4 separate regions of the Homo sapiens genome follow, and regions 1, 2 and 3 are each linked to region 4. Evidence: promoter capture Hi-C in 16 types of primary human blood cells and fetal thymus (Javierre and others, 2016). All regions are on one chromosome and are shown on one strand. The core of a region is centred on a gene start or on the middle of the fragment in contact, and the rest is flanking DNA. Distances in the headings are between cores, read along the strand shown. Region 1 overlaps TWF1 (twinfilin actin binding protein 1). Region 2 has its middle 3.7 kb from the start of C2CD5. Region 3 holds the start of TMEM263-DT (TMEM263 divergent transcript). Region 4 holds the start of CCDC59 (coiled-coil domain containing 59).

The links. Contacts are between HindIII fragments. The CHiCAGO score rates a contact against its expected background, and 5 or more counts as called.
Region 1: a fragment that was not itself captured here is called in contact with the fragment with the promoter of CCDC59 in region 4 in 1 of 17 cell types (naive B cells); the score reaches 5.5 in naive B cells.
Region 2: a fragment that was not itself captured here is called in contact with the fragment with the promoter of CCDC59 in region 4 in 1 of 17 cell types (non-activated CD4 T cells); the score reaches 8.2 in non-activated CD4 T cells.
Region 3: a contact is called between the fragment with the promoter of TMEM263-DT here and the fragment with the promoter of CCDC59 in region 4, in 1 of 17 cell types (non-activated CD4 T cells). The highest score is 7.0, in non-activated CD4 T cells.

What each region holds. Positions count from the first base shown.
Region 1 is chr12:43,800,606-43,803,961 of GRCh38, reverse strand. TWF1 (twinfilin actin binding protein 1) reads left to right here. Exons shown (of 9, transcript NM_002822.5): 3 at 1,498-1,676. It also overlaps a transcript of TMEM117 not described here. Among named protein-coding and RNA genes, the nearest start is that of TWF1, 4.0 kb to the left of the region's middle. The HindIII fragment of the contact is 5,233 bases long and covers 1-3,356 here.
Region 2 is chr12:22,546,513-22,549,967 of GRCh38, reverse strand. No RefSeq gene overlaps it. Among named protein-coding and RNA genes, the nearest start is that of C2CD5, 3.7 kb to the right of the region's middle. The HindIII fragment of the contact is 951 bases long and covers 1,637-2,587 here.
Region 3 is chr12:106,954,210-106,957,705 of GRCh38, reverse strand. It overlaps TMEM263-DT (TMEM263 divergent transcript), which reads left to right and starts at 2,211. Exons shown (of 1, transcript NR_185933.1): 1 at 2,211-3,496. It overlaps TMEM263 (transmembrane protein 263), which reads right to left and starts at 1,799. Exons shown (of 4, transcript NM_152261.4): 1 at 1,641-1,799; 2 at 557-624. RefSeq lists enhancers at 852-911, 1,841-2,135 and a silencer at 1,412-2,171. The HindIII fragment of the contact is 6,686 bases long and covers 1-3,496 here.
Region 4 is chr12:82,356,447-82,359,713 of GRCh38, reverse strand. CCDC59 (coiled-coil domain containing 59) reads left to right here and starts at 1,327. Exons shown (of 4, transcript NM_014167.5): 1 at 1,327-1,491; 2 at 2,445-2,754. The coding sequence starts at 1,338. METTL25 (methyltransferase like 25) reads right to left here and starts at 1,185. Exons shown (of 12, transcript NM_032230.3): 1 at 890-1,185. The coding sequence starts at 1,148. RefSeq lists enhancers at 397-957, 888-1,447, 958-1,518. The HindIII fragment of the contact is 1,548 bases long and covers 15-1,562 here.

The sequences.
Region 1 (3,356 bases), core at 385-2,884, about 39 Mb after region 4:
GTTGAGTGGGAGAATCTTTTAAATCAGGCAGATTTGAATTTGAACAATTATTGTTATAGGTACTCAGTCATAAATGAATATATTAAAATATTCCAGTGGCCTAATTTCTTAAATATCTGAAAATATTTTGCTTTGGAAAAGTAACTTGTTCTTTCACAAACTGGAAGTAAATCTAATTTGTTTTCTATTTTCTGCTTATATAAAAAATACCAGAATAGTTTGTAAAATATGCATTTGTTTACATACAACATTCAATAGGAATATATGTATATTGTAAAACAGCATATTTTAAAAATACTGAGCTAAAATTTTTAATGCCATCACTTCCTAAGTGACTAGTTAAGGAACTAAAATGGAAAAGTTAATCTAACTAGCATCTCTACGGAAGGAAAATGGCACTACTTCCTAAGTTATTATTTTCTGGTTTTACTTTTTTGTTTTGTGAAAATTTTTAAATAAGGAAAATTCCAAAGACTAAAATTGTATCATAAATACCTATATCTCCCCTTTATTAATAACTGCTAACATTTTATCTTATTTACTTCAAGCATTTTAGAAAATTCAGTGTTTTTCTGGTATAAGAGCATCCCCTTTAAACAATTTTGCTTCTGACCTCCTTACCCTGGGGCAACTACAATTGGGAGTTCTGATACTTGTGCAGTCTGTTTTTACATGTATCCCTAAATAGCATATAGTGCTCTTTGAGTTTACATAAACTGCATGATACCATCTTACTCTGTATCTTTCCTTTTTCTGAAAATGTTCCATTTGCAATTAGTTTTGATAGCTCAATAATTCATTTTAAATCTGAACAGAATGTTATATGACTATGCCACACATTATTTTTGCATTGTCTTATTGATGAACATTGAGGCTATAACTTCACTGTTACTGTATAGTGCTGCAGTGAACACCTTTGTATTTATGTATAAGAGATTCTGTATGCATAGTAGATTAACAGTTTTACTTGATTCTGCTGAATACCATTTCAAAGTGGCTATACCAGTGTATACATCTAGGCAAATGTTTAAATCTGTAGCATTATGGCCAAATAAAAAGGAGTTAAACATGGTTTTATTTAATATTTCTTACTGTACAATTCATTGTTAATGTCAGAAATTATACTTTTGAATGGTAGTTTAAATATATTTTGTTGATAACTTAAGCTCAGACATTTTGGAAAATAGAAATGTAATGACTGTTATAGGTCATTACATTATTTGACCATTCAGTTCAACTGTTATGATCATTTTTATATGTTTCTTTCTTAGGCTGTGTATATTTTAAACATTTTAACCATGTTCATAAAAAGTTAACAGTTTTTATAATACTCTATGTCATAATTACTTTCTATGTTACCACATTTTTCTTTTCAACTTTTTGATGTGAATAATAGTAACTGGGAAATGACTATATATTTATTTTTCTAGTCTTCATCACACTACCACTTGATATCTCAAACCATTTACCTATCTTTCTAAAAATAATTTTTCATAGAGCAACTTGTGATTGGATCATATAGTCAGCCTTCAGATTCCTGGGATAAGGATTATGATTCCTTTGTTTTACCCCTGTTGGAGGACAAACAACCATGCTATATATTATTCAGGTTAGATTCTCAGAATGCCCAGGGATATGAATGGATATTCATTGCATGGTCTCCAGATCATTCTCATGTAAGTAACTTTTTTATAGTTTGTTTAACATTAAATGCTAGAAAAATGTTTTTGAAATTTCTAGGTCAAATAAAGGTTAAAAAACAATAATTATTTCCCATAGAAGGGAATGATCATGAGGAAAATCCTTGGATTGATAACGGAGAATCAGGAATAATGTGCTTAGATTCGGGAGTTTTGCCCTTGAAATCAAAATAATTATTACTGATTTAAGATTTAAAAATTTGTGGCAATGGCAATTTTTTCTTTCTTTTTTAAGGCAGAATCTCACTCTGTCACCCAGACCAGCTTGCTGTGGTGCAGTTTCGGCTCACTGCAACCTCTGCCTCCCAGGCTCAAGTGATTTTCCCACCTCAGCCTCTTGAGTAGCTGGGATTACAGGCATGTGCCACCACGCCCAGCTAATTTTTATATTTTTAGTAGAGACGGGGTTTCACTGTGTTGCCCAGGCTGGTCTCAAACTCGTGGCCTTAAGTGATCCACCCACCTCGGCCTCCCAAAGTGCTGGGATTACAGGTATGAGCCACTGTGTCCAACCTAATTTGTGGTAATTTTAAAATGACTCCATGGGCCTCTGAAAAATGAAGGAAACTGCCTGGCCCTGAGAGTAATAATTGTAATAAATCTGAGAACTAATTGAACATAATATTAAATTTTGTTAGTATTATCATACATTTATTAATCGCTACCATTCAAGTGATGGGCCTGCATACAAACAAGTATTTTAGGAAAGCTGGTAGTAGATTGACTGTATAGAACAATAGACAGAATTAATATATGAATATGGCCCAATATTTAAAAAATTAATTTGAATTTTTCTTATTAAAAAATAATTATTTTTAAAGTTATCTAGATATTTTCTCAAAAGATCATCCCATTCCTCTTTAATTCCCCATGTTCTATCTGAAAGAAATACTGGGTTTGACCATGCAGGATTATGAAATTATTTGTTAATTGGTAGTTATCTTTAGTAGCTTTCCATAGATACTAGTTGACTCTTGAATTTTTTTTTCCATCTTTGTGTCCCTCCTAGAATGGTATGTGCCATCGGTAAGCCGTGAATTTTGATTCTTAACAACTTAATTCGTAATCTTTGATACAGCTTTGAGAAGAATGTCACTATCAAAGTTACTTCATTTCAGTTTTCCTCATATTTTAATTTTTTATTCTTGAACTTATGAGTTTGAAAAATGAAGAATTTAAACAATTTATATTTTTTTCAGCTTTAAAATGTGGCCAGGCACGGTGGCTCATGCCTGTAATCCCTAAACTTTGGGAAGCCGAGGCGAGTGGATCACCAGAGGTCAGGAGTTTGAGACCAGCTTGACCAACATGGTGAAAGCCCGTCTGTACTAAAAATAGAAAAAATTAGCCAAGTGTGGTGGCGCACACCTATAATCCCAGCTACTCGGGAGGCTGAGGCAGGAGAACCACTTGAACCTGGGAGGCAGAGGTTGCAGTGAGCTGAGATCATGCCATTCCACTCCAGCCTGGGCAACAAGAGCAAATCTGCGTCTCAAAAAACAAAAAAAGTGACATTGTAAATTGAAGTCCATCTTACTAACCATTGATAGTTTAGATGCCCATGTTAATGACGGTTATTTGTACACACGTATTTTAGCATATTATAGTGGGTGGACTTCAGCTCAGTTTTGTTTTTAATGTGATTCAGGATATTAA
Region 2 (3,455 bases), core at 863-3,362, about 60 Mb after region 4:
TTGCCACTGCACTCCAGCCTGGGCGACCAAGCGAGACTCTGTCTCAAACAAACAAACAAATAAACAAAAAAAGGGAATTGGTGATTAATTTGGTCAGGGTTGAGGAAGAATCAAAGGCAAGGGTCAGTTCAGACTAGAGTTTCCACAAAGCCCTTATGTAGACACAAATGGAAAACCTGCAGGCTTTGCAGTACCAGCATGAATAAGGGGAACTTGTCCTGGTGCTAACACAATAAGGAAGTGTCTGCCTATTTATATCTCAGTACCATGACTCATTGAGTGCATTGATAGGCACTGATAAAAAGCAGTGTGGGCTGGCTGTGGTGGCTCACACCTGTAATCCCAGCACTTTGGGAGGCCAAGCTGGGTGGATCACCTGAGGTCAGGAGTTCGAGATCAGCTTGACCAACATGGTGAAACCCCCATCTCTACTAAAAATACAAAAATAAGCTGGGTGTGGTGGCAGGTGCCTGTAATCCCAGCTACTCGAGAGGCTGAGTCAGGACAATCACTTGAACCTGGGAGGCGGAGGCGGCAGTGAGCAGAGATCACACCATTGCACTCCAGCCTGGGCAACAAGAGCAAAACTCCCAAAAAAAGCAATGTGTTCCACTGCAATAATCTTCCAATTTAGAGAATATTTTACTTGATGCAGTCCTTATGCCCATGGTACATTAAGTATGGTATGGTACCTTATGCCCATGGTACATTAAGATACAAGGGAACTAATAAGATGATGAGTTTACCTAGATGCCTACTTATCTCATTTTTACTCCTTAATCAAAGCAAAAGTGAGCCACATGGTGGCTCACACCTGCAATCCTAGCACTTTGGGAGGATGAGGCAGGCAGATCACTTGAGCCCAAGAGTTCGAGATCAGCCTGGGCAACATGGGGAGACCTCATCTCTACTAAAATATAAAAATTAGCCAGATGTGGTGGTGTGCGCCTGCAGTCCCAGCTATTCAGGAGGCTAAGGTTGGAGGATCACCTGAGCCTGGGAGGTTGAGGCTGTGGTGAACTGTGATCTTGCCACCGCACTGTAGCCTGGGTAACAGAGTGGGACCCTGGCCCAAAGGAAAAAAAAAAATCAAAGCAAAAGTAACTGAACTGAGCCCAAGTTGTCATTTGTATAATTATACTTGTAATCCCAGCCCACTTTCAAACTTAAATCAGTGAGTTTCTGGCTTGAGCAATTGACTATGTAGTTGGCATTGCTGTTTAGTAGAAGACTACCAGGTCTTTTGTTGTTGTTGTTGTCATTCTCGTTGTTGTAGTTATGGGAAAGGTAAAGAAAATCAGGTCAGTTTTGGACATCTTGACTTTTGAGGTCACTTTTGGACATCTTGACTTTTGAGGTCACTTTGATACTCCAAATGGAAATAGTAACTTGGCAGTTGCATATATGGGTCAAGATCCCAGAAGCGAGTTACAGACTAAAGATAACGATTTGAGAGTCCCTGACTAAACAGATGGAAATTAAAATTGTGAGCTTGGATGAGATCACCTAGGGAGACAGTACAGTTGGAAGAGAATAGAGACAAAAACTGAACCTGAGAAAAACACATATTTAATAGTTAAGGACAATGAGTAGGCTGAGAAGACAGATGTATAAACCAGAATAGGTAAGAGAAGCTTGGTTTCTGAATACCAAGAGGAAGATTATTTTAAGGACAGCGTGGTCAACAGCATCAAATGCTACTGAGAGTCACGTAAATAAAAAACTGAAGCCAGGCATGGTGGCACGTGCCTGTAGTCTCAGCAACTTGGGAGCCTGAGGCAGAAGGACTGCATGAACCCAAGGGTTTGAGACCAGTCTGGGCAACACAGCAAGACCCCATCTCAAAAATAAAAACTTAAAACTAAAAAAAGTGTTCATTGCATTTAGCAACCAGAGGTTATTGATGGCATTAGTGAAAGCTGTTTTTGTAGAGTGGTGGTGGCTAAACCCAGATATTAATAGTTTTTGGAGCGCTTAGGAAGTGAGGAGAGGGCACCAAGTACTGACAACCCTTGAGTAATTTAACCTGAAAGAATGGGAAAGATTAACAGGAACATTTTAGGAAGCCAGGAAAGAAGAGCAATCTAAGTAGTAATAGCAAGTGTTAACTGTTAATTTAATTCCACAATAATTTGTTGATCACATGAAGGGCACAGGACAAAGAACTGAGAATTGAGAGATGAGTGAGAAGCAATCCATTCCCTCAGAGTGCTCATGGTTTAGTGGGGGTTGGGGGGGAGAGAGATGGATAAATAATTATTGCATGGAAAGTATAATAACAAATGTATTAGATTTAGTAGTAGCATAGGTGGGAGTGAAGAGCATATTTATTAGGAAGGAGATTAGAGAAGATGTAGAAGTGACTTTTGTAAAAGGCAAAAGATTTATACACTCTAAAGAGAAACCAGAGTATTGACTTTTGAACTGAGTTATGAATTCATAGCTATTTGGTAGGATGACTATGAGAGAGATACTCCAGGAAGAAGGAAAAGTATAGTTTATTAGAAAACTACATGTAATCTTCAAAGACGTGAGTTCTTGGAATCACATTGTCTAGATTTAAAACCTGCCTCTATCATTAGAAGCTTTGTGACCTTGGGTAATCACCAGAGCTTTGAAAAGCCATAATTTTCTCATTTATAAAATGAAGGCTGATAATTCCTACCTCAGGATTTTAGGGAGCCTTAACAGCTGTGAAACGCTGAATTCAGTAGCTGGTGTGCGGCAAACCATCAATACACGTTAATTCTTGTTATTGATAATTTAAAATGCAAAAAGAGTGTCAGGGTATGAAGCTAAACAAGGTAATCAGGAGTCACATCATGGTAGATTTGTCAGAAAGTTAGCACTGTTCCCAGCATTAATGAAAACAAACGAGAACAATTATTAGGAAACAGTTCAACTGAAGTCAGGCTTAAATCTACTAAAAATAGTTTTCAGGAAGCATCTTAATTATAATCTCTTGTTGATGAAGCCTAAGGCAACAAGTACGTACAAGTACCTCAAAGTCTACTAATTAGGAGGCTGAGATTGCTAACCTCTAATTGTGCAATTTGCAACTTTTTACATTTTGGAACACAATGCATTATTTTCCATTAATATTGGTGCTAAACTTCAATTTTCTAATATTTTTTCTTTATACATTTCATATTTTAAAAAATGAGTTGGTAATACGGTAATACTTCGATTTCACCACAAAAACGACTTCAACTCTACCACCCAAAACAACAAAAAACACTGATCATGCCGGGCAAGATGGCTCATGCCTGTAATCCCACCACTTTGTGAGGTCAAGGCAGGAGGATGGCTTAAACCAGGATTGAGACCAGCCTGGGCAATACAGGGAGACTCCATCTCTTCAAAAAATTTAAAAAACTAGCGGTGCATGGTGGTATGTGCTTGTAGTCCCAGGAACTTGGGGGGCTGAGGTGGGAGGATCGCTTGGCCCAGAAGAT
Region 3 (3,496 bases), core at 962-3,461, about 25 Mb before region 4:
ATTACAATACTCTATTAAACCAGAGAACCAGTAAACCATCTTCACATTATTTCAACAGATATTTGCATTCCTACTATGTGTCAAACATTCTATTAGGCACTGAGGCATCCTTGTGAACAAGCATACAAAGGTCTTATTCTCAAGATGTTTATATATAATCCAGTGAGATATCTTCCGGAAATAGAAAAAGAGCAAATACCGAATAACTGAAACAAAGGTAAAGATTTTCCTGTAGTTAAAAAAAAAAAAATCAAACCCATGCACACACAAAGAAATCTGTATATTTGTCCAATGTAGCAACCGTTATAATTTCTAACGATGCTTTCTATAAATGGACAAATTTTTACTGAACTTGGTTTCTGGTACATCTGTTCTAACAAAGACTAAAGAAATGAAAGTGGAAAAAGCAAAACAGGATGCATATGGGTTTATCAAAGGCTACTTCTCCCTTTCTTTTTAAAAAGTTAAGCATGGGCGCGAGCGCGCACACACATACACACACACACACACACACACACACACACACACACACACACACACGGGCGCGCGCGTTTACCTGTTGGTGTTGTATCGATATTCCTGGGGAACCCCTGAGGGCACTCACACCAGCAGAAGTTTCAAAGGCTAAACAATAGCATACAGCAAATAATCACATATAGCAAATATTTTCATTTGGAATTAGCACAGTGTTCACAAGGACGCAAAAATCAAATTAAGAACCCTTCCCTTTTCTCTAGGTGTTTCTAAACCCTTCCGGGTGGCCCCTTCTCTCCCTACTGATCCCTTTAGGCACTAGCAAATCTTTTTTTTTTCTTTAGCAGTGAGTGACGTGGCAGGAGGCAGAAAATGACCCTGGAGGCGCCGTGGCTAGCACTGAGCTTGGCACCTCCTCCCTCCGCTCCACGTTGTACACCCAGCACTCCCCCCACTCCCGAAGGGCTCCAGAATTTCTATGTAAGAAGGGTTTAGGACAGGCGATCTGATTGGAAGTGGGAGCTGGGGGGTCGGTCTTGAAGCTGCGTGTGCAGAGCAGGCAGTTTTTATTTAGACTGGGAGGCAGTGACGGCACGGATGGGTGCTCCAGCCCTCCCTGTCACCCCTGGGCGCGGCCAGCACCCTCTCCATTCCCACTTTTACTTTAGGTTAGGCGTGGAGATACAGCCTTCCTACCCAGGAAGAGCTATGGGGGTGTCCACTGGGAAAAAGTCTTGTGTGCCTGAACCCAAAAGGGAGGTTTAGCAACAGGTCAGGAGTTGGCAGGGCGAGGAAGCCCGGTACCCAAGCCCCTCCGCTGCATCCCTCTCCCAGGCTGCTGATGCCCCTCACCTTCCTCCTCCGCCCCCAACCCCGAACCCCCAGATGCTAAGAAGTCAGGCGGAGGCTTTCCAGGGGTGCGCAAGCTCCAATCGCGGCGGGGCAGTCAGCGACGTATAAGGAGGAGTAGCCCCAGAAGCGAACCTCCATCCGCCCCCAACTTCGTCCCGCCCCTCCCCCTTTCCCGCTGGGGCCTCGCCAAGGCCCCGCTGGGCAGCCAGGCCGGGCACTGGGAGGTGAGGGGCAGGGGCGCCGACGGCAGAGGGCGACGGAGGAGGGCAGGAAGCCGGGACTGCGCCCCTGCCCTCGCATCCCGACTCACTCACCGCCGGGGTCGCGGCCAGCGCTAGGGCTGGGGCCGGGCGGAGTGAGCGGGCCGGCGCAGAGGAGAGCTGAGGCGGCCTGGGCGGCAGCGGCGGCCGGCACAACCCCGGGCAGTCGCGGCTCCAGAGGCGTCCTCTCAGGATGTGGAGCTGGAAGACTGTGGCGGCGGTGGTGGAGGCGGAGGCCTCTGGCTGCGGACGTGGCGCCCGACGCGACCCGCCCCCTCCGCCGCCTCCTCAGCTCCCGCCTCCTCCCGCGGCTCCAGTTCCGACGCGCACGCGCGCTCGTGCAGCCCGGGCCCCTCCCGCGCCCACCGGGCACACGCCCACCCGTTCTCGCAGGGTCCGGCCCTCCCAGCAGTCCCCAGCCGGCTGTGTCCCAATTGCGCACGCGCGACGCTCCGAGGCCCGCTCCCGCCCCTTCGCCCCCTGGACGCCTCCGTGGGAACCCCCGGCCGGCCTGCGCGCCCCTCCTCCGGGGGTCTCCCCGCCTTCTTCCCGCCACCATCCAATCAAATCGGGCGAGGGGCGCGAAGCCCGGGAGACGCGTAGGCCGCGGCCCCCAGGCCCGGTGTTTTGACGTCGGCGGTGCCCGCGTTCCGCGCCGAGTAACGGTCTTCGGAATTCAGAGCCTTCGCCTTAGGGAAGGTGGGACGGTCGCCAGTTTCTCCAGCACTTTCTTCGTCCAGGGACGTCAACCTCCCTTGCATGCTGTCCTCAGGGACTGACAGCGGGGCCTGCTCAGAAGTTCTCGTCGGGACTCTCTACAGGCCTTTGTGATTAAGTGCTAGGGGTGAGGAGAGACGTGGCTTATTTATGTGTTTTTCAGTTTGTTATGATTTTTTTTTTTTTAATTTTACTTCTCCCTGCCCTAGAATTGAGCTCCTTGAGAGTAAAAACCCGCCTGGGTCGCCATCACCCTAGGCTTGGTGCAGGGCCTGCCAGGCGCTCGAATTTGTTGAAGAGGTGGGTGTTCAGTATCGAAAGAGCCGCGGATTGTACATTAGAAAGCCTGGCTTTGCGCCGCGTCCTTGCCACTTGCTGACCAGGCCCCTCCACGTGGTCCCCGCCGGGGCAGCAGCTCTCCTCACCCGTCCAAAGGCACGGGGAGGCGCGTGGCGGCCCCGCCAGAGCTGAGCCCCCTGGGATGTGAGGCCGTCTCGCTCTGAGCTTCAGAGCAGGGTTGCAGGAGACACCTCAGAAGGTCGTTTTGAGGACGGGAGGAGATGAACTGCTCAAAGCCTGCTTAACTAGATAAATGGTATCGATTAACTTTTCTTTGACTCCCTTTCCACACCTATAAAATGAAGATGACGGGAAACTTGTCATACTTTTTTTGTGGTGGGTGGGAAAGGTCTTTATGAACTGTGAAGTCCTATGCAAACGTGAGATGTTTCCTTTCGCAATCTGATTAGCGAAGCAAAAACACGCGAGTCAAAAACATACACAGAAAGCAAAAAAAAAAAATTCACAAAATGGTTTATCAACTGCAGAATATTCAGGATGGTGGAACTGAATGGTAACTACTGACAACATAGCTCAGAAAGGACGTGCTAAAACATGCTGGATGAAGCTAACTTTGATCCAGGTCTTAAATGGAATGGACTATAGTTTATAGCTTCAACCTAATCATTAACTTATGAAATCAGAGAATTAAGGCCACTTAAGCCACTGTGCTCAGACTGTCAAGATATTTAGTTTCTCAAAGCAGAAAGAGGAAATTAAATACTCTTGTCAATTCAACATATGGGTTGGATGATTAGCAGGATCCGTGGATTGTTGTTTATCCAGTATGTGAAGAAACGGATATCCTCTGTTTTCTCGTTATTACACAAACTTCTATCCTTAATATGTGACCT
Region 4 (3,267 bases), core at 78-2,577:
GGGTAGGAAAAGCTTGAGCCTACAAAAATTCAAGACACATATTAGGTACTTTAAAATAGTTTTTAAATGAAATAGTGACTATCCGAATACCATCCTAGTCCAAGATACAATCATCTGTTGTACTACTGAGGTAGTCTCCTAACTGGCCTCTCAGCTTCAGCTTTTGCCCTAGTCTATTCTTCAAATAATTCACAGTTATCTTTTCAAATGTGAATTAGGTCACTATGTTGCCTAAATAATCCCAAGGGTTTCCGTCACACTTAAAATCCAAAATCCTTCCAAGGCCTAGAAAGGCCTGTGCCATCTGGCCTCTGCTTGCCTCCCGTCCTGCACCTGCAGCCCCTCACCTGGCTAGAGCCAAGCCTAGCCTGCGGTTCCCACCGCCTGCAACCCCTCCCTGTGGCTCTGCAGCTAGTGCCTTCTCATGTTCCTGACCTCCTAAATTGAGGCAGCCTCCTTACACAATCCCTACCACATTACACTGTTTTTATTTTCTACTTCATTACCACCACTTGAAATTATCTTTATTAACTGTTGAGTAATCTTCCACCACATGCTGGCATTTATAAAACCTGTGAGAGCACTGCTCCCCTAGTTTCCCTAGCGTCAATTATTATGGAATTACTAGATGAAGGAACTCCCCTGCCCTGTTTCCTGCTTTCTTTAAATTGTGGACATACACAAGCACCCAAAGAAAGAGTGATCCTGATTCCAAAGAACATCCCCACCCCACCCCTCAACTAATCCGACCCCTCCTCGGTTTCCCAGCGGGCCGCCCCGCCTCCGCCGCCACGCACCTGGTTCTGCTGGCTTCCACCAGGGGGCTCGCTTCGTCTGCCGGGACCTTCTCCTCCGCCTCCCTTCCCGCCCCGCCTACCCCACCACCCACCTGCTTCCCACTCTGCTTCCACTAGGGGGCGCGTCTCTGAGGGCAGGGCCTCCGTCTCCGACGCTGACTTCCTCAGCGCAGCCAGCACTGTCTCCGGTGGCAAGTCGACCAGCTCCTCCCACACGGATTCTGTGTAGAAATCCACGGTATGTGCATTGGAAATGGACAGGGCATCCCTCAGGAACTGCAGCAGTCCCTGCAACTTGGCACGCAGCGTGGGCAGGTCCGGGGTCACCGGGAGAGGGCAAGAAGCCGCCATGACGCTCACCCTCCGAGGCTGTAGGTGGCGCAAACATGGCCGTGAGGCGCCAGCTCGGCCCAAATTAGCACAGGCAGGCTCAGTAGAGCTCCGAGCCGGATTCCTTCTGAGCGATTGATTGCTTCGGCTTGGTGACGTATTTTGTGGGCGTCCGTCGTGGTCTTCTGATGACGCAGTTAGTCGGCTGCAATGGCGCCGGTGAGGCGGTCCGCGAAGTGGCGGCCTGGTGGTATTGAGGCGCGTGGTGAAGGGGTTTCCACTGTCGGGTACAGGAATAAGAATGTGAGACAGAAGACATGGCGGCCTAACCACCCGCAAGCCTTCGTGGGGAGCGTTCGCGAGGGTATGTAAGAAGGCAACCATTTGCAAATCCTCAGGCTTGCTAAGTTTTAGGATATAAGATTCGCTGAAGCTTGGAAGAAGGATTTAGGAACCAGACCCGGTCCTACTTGGGGCAAGGGAATTCATTCCTGAGCCCGCTAAAGCTGTGAGCTTCGCAGAGCTCTAGATAGGAAGACGGAGCAGTGTTGCTATTATTTAAACGTCTTTTCTGACGTAACCCTGTATTTCATCAGAACTTTTTTCCTATATTTTTCCTGAGAAACTGAGCAGAGAGAGTCTATGACCCTGTGAACTCTTGCGCATGTGGTAAGGTAAAGGATAGAGAGGAGGACAGGGCCAGAAACACTGCTCCGAATTCTTCCTTATTACAAATACCCGAGGCCCTCCAGCCTTCGCTTTAATTTGTGTTTGTCATTTTGTATTGCTGTCTGTAAGGTCTCTTAGATCCCACTTGGAATATATAAATGTTAAATTCAGTCTTCCGATAATTGCTAGCTTTTCAGACAACCATACACTGTCTTTTTCTTTCGTGTTGAAACATTTTCGAAAACATGTAGTTTGTCCAAGATACTAGATGTGGCATTTTCTTTCCTATTTTTTAAGCATTTATTGAAGGCTCAGATTAAGTGTTTTAGATGAACTAAGGAATTTGTTTTGATTTGTGAATACAGCTGTAAACTCAAGTTGTGCAACAGTCTGAACTGGTCAGTTTTTCTTTGAGATTCTTACTTGGATTTCCGCATGACTGTTAGCCTGGTCTTTTTGCAAAGGGCCAACTTACTATGCAATCCATCAGCTTAAATTTGTTGCTTGAAATAATTTTTTAAAGCAAAATATAATACTAGAATCTGAATGTGATGACGTAAAAAAAGTTTTCATTTGTAATTAACAGCTCCATTCTTCGTTCAACTTCTTTTCTCTGAAAGTAATTTTGGATGATATTCCTCAATGTAGGACAAGGCTTTGCTTTTCGAAGAAAACTGAAAATACAGCAAAGTTACAAGAAATTGCTACGGAAGGAAAAGAAGGCTCAAACGTCACTGGAATCTCAATTCACAGATCGATACCCAGATAATCTGAAACATCTCTATTTAGCTGAAGAGGAAAGACATAGGAAGCAAGCAAGAAAAGTCGACCATCCTTTGTCAGAACAAGTTCACCAGCCGTTGCTTGAAGAACAGTGTAGCATTGACGAGCCTTTATTTGAAGATCAGTGTAGCTTTGACCAGCCTCAGCCAGAAGAACAATGTATTAAAACAGTAAAGTATGTATTTTCTTCATTTGAAATCCTTTAAGTGTTGTTTTATTATTTAAAAGTACTATAGGATAATTTATATAGGAATTGTATTTTTTCTTATTTAACACATTTTAGAAGTCACGGTTTAATTAGGGAAACATTTTCATGGAGGCTCTATTTTTAGCTTCAATAACTGAATTAGGCTGGTTTAGCCTAATTGACAAAGTAACGTAATGGGAATTAAGAGCTCTGGAATTTGGGTTTCTTCCTCTCAAGTACAGGTGGTAACTTGATTGGACCATATGTTATGACTATATTTTTGAAAAATAACTTCTGAGAGGTGTTATAATTTTAGTCATTAACAGTATGGGTTCTAGAGCCAGACTCAACATGTTAGTGCCCCAGTGACCTCTTCTTTAAAATGGGAAAAATAACACTATGTCCTCTTTAAATTGGGAAAGATAATACTGTAATGAATATATACTTCAGAGCTGCCATGTTGCACAGCTCCAGAATGGATTACTCACATAAACTCAGGTG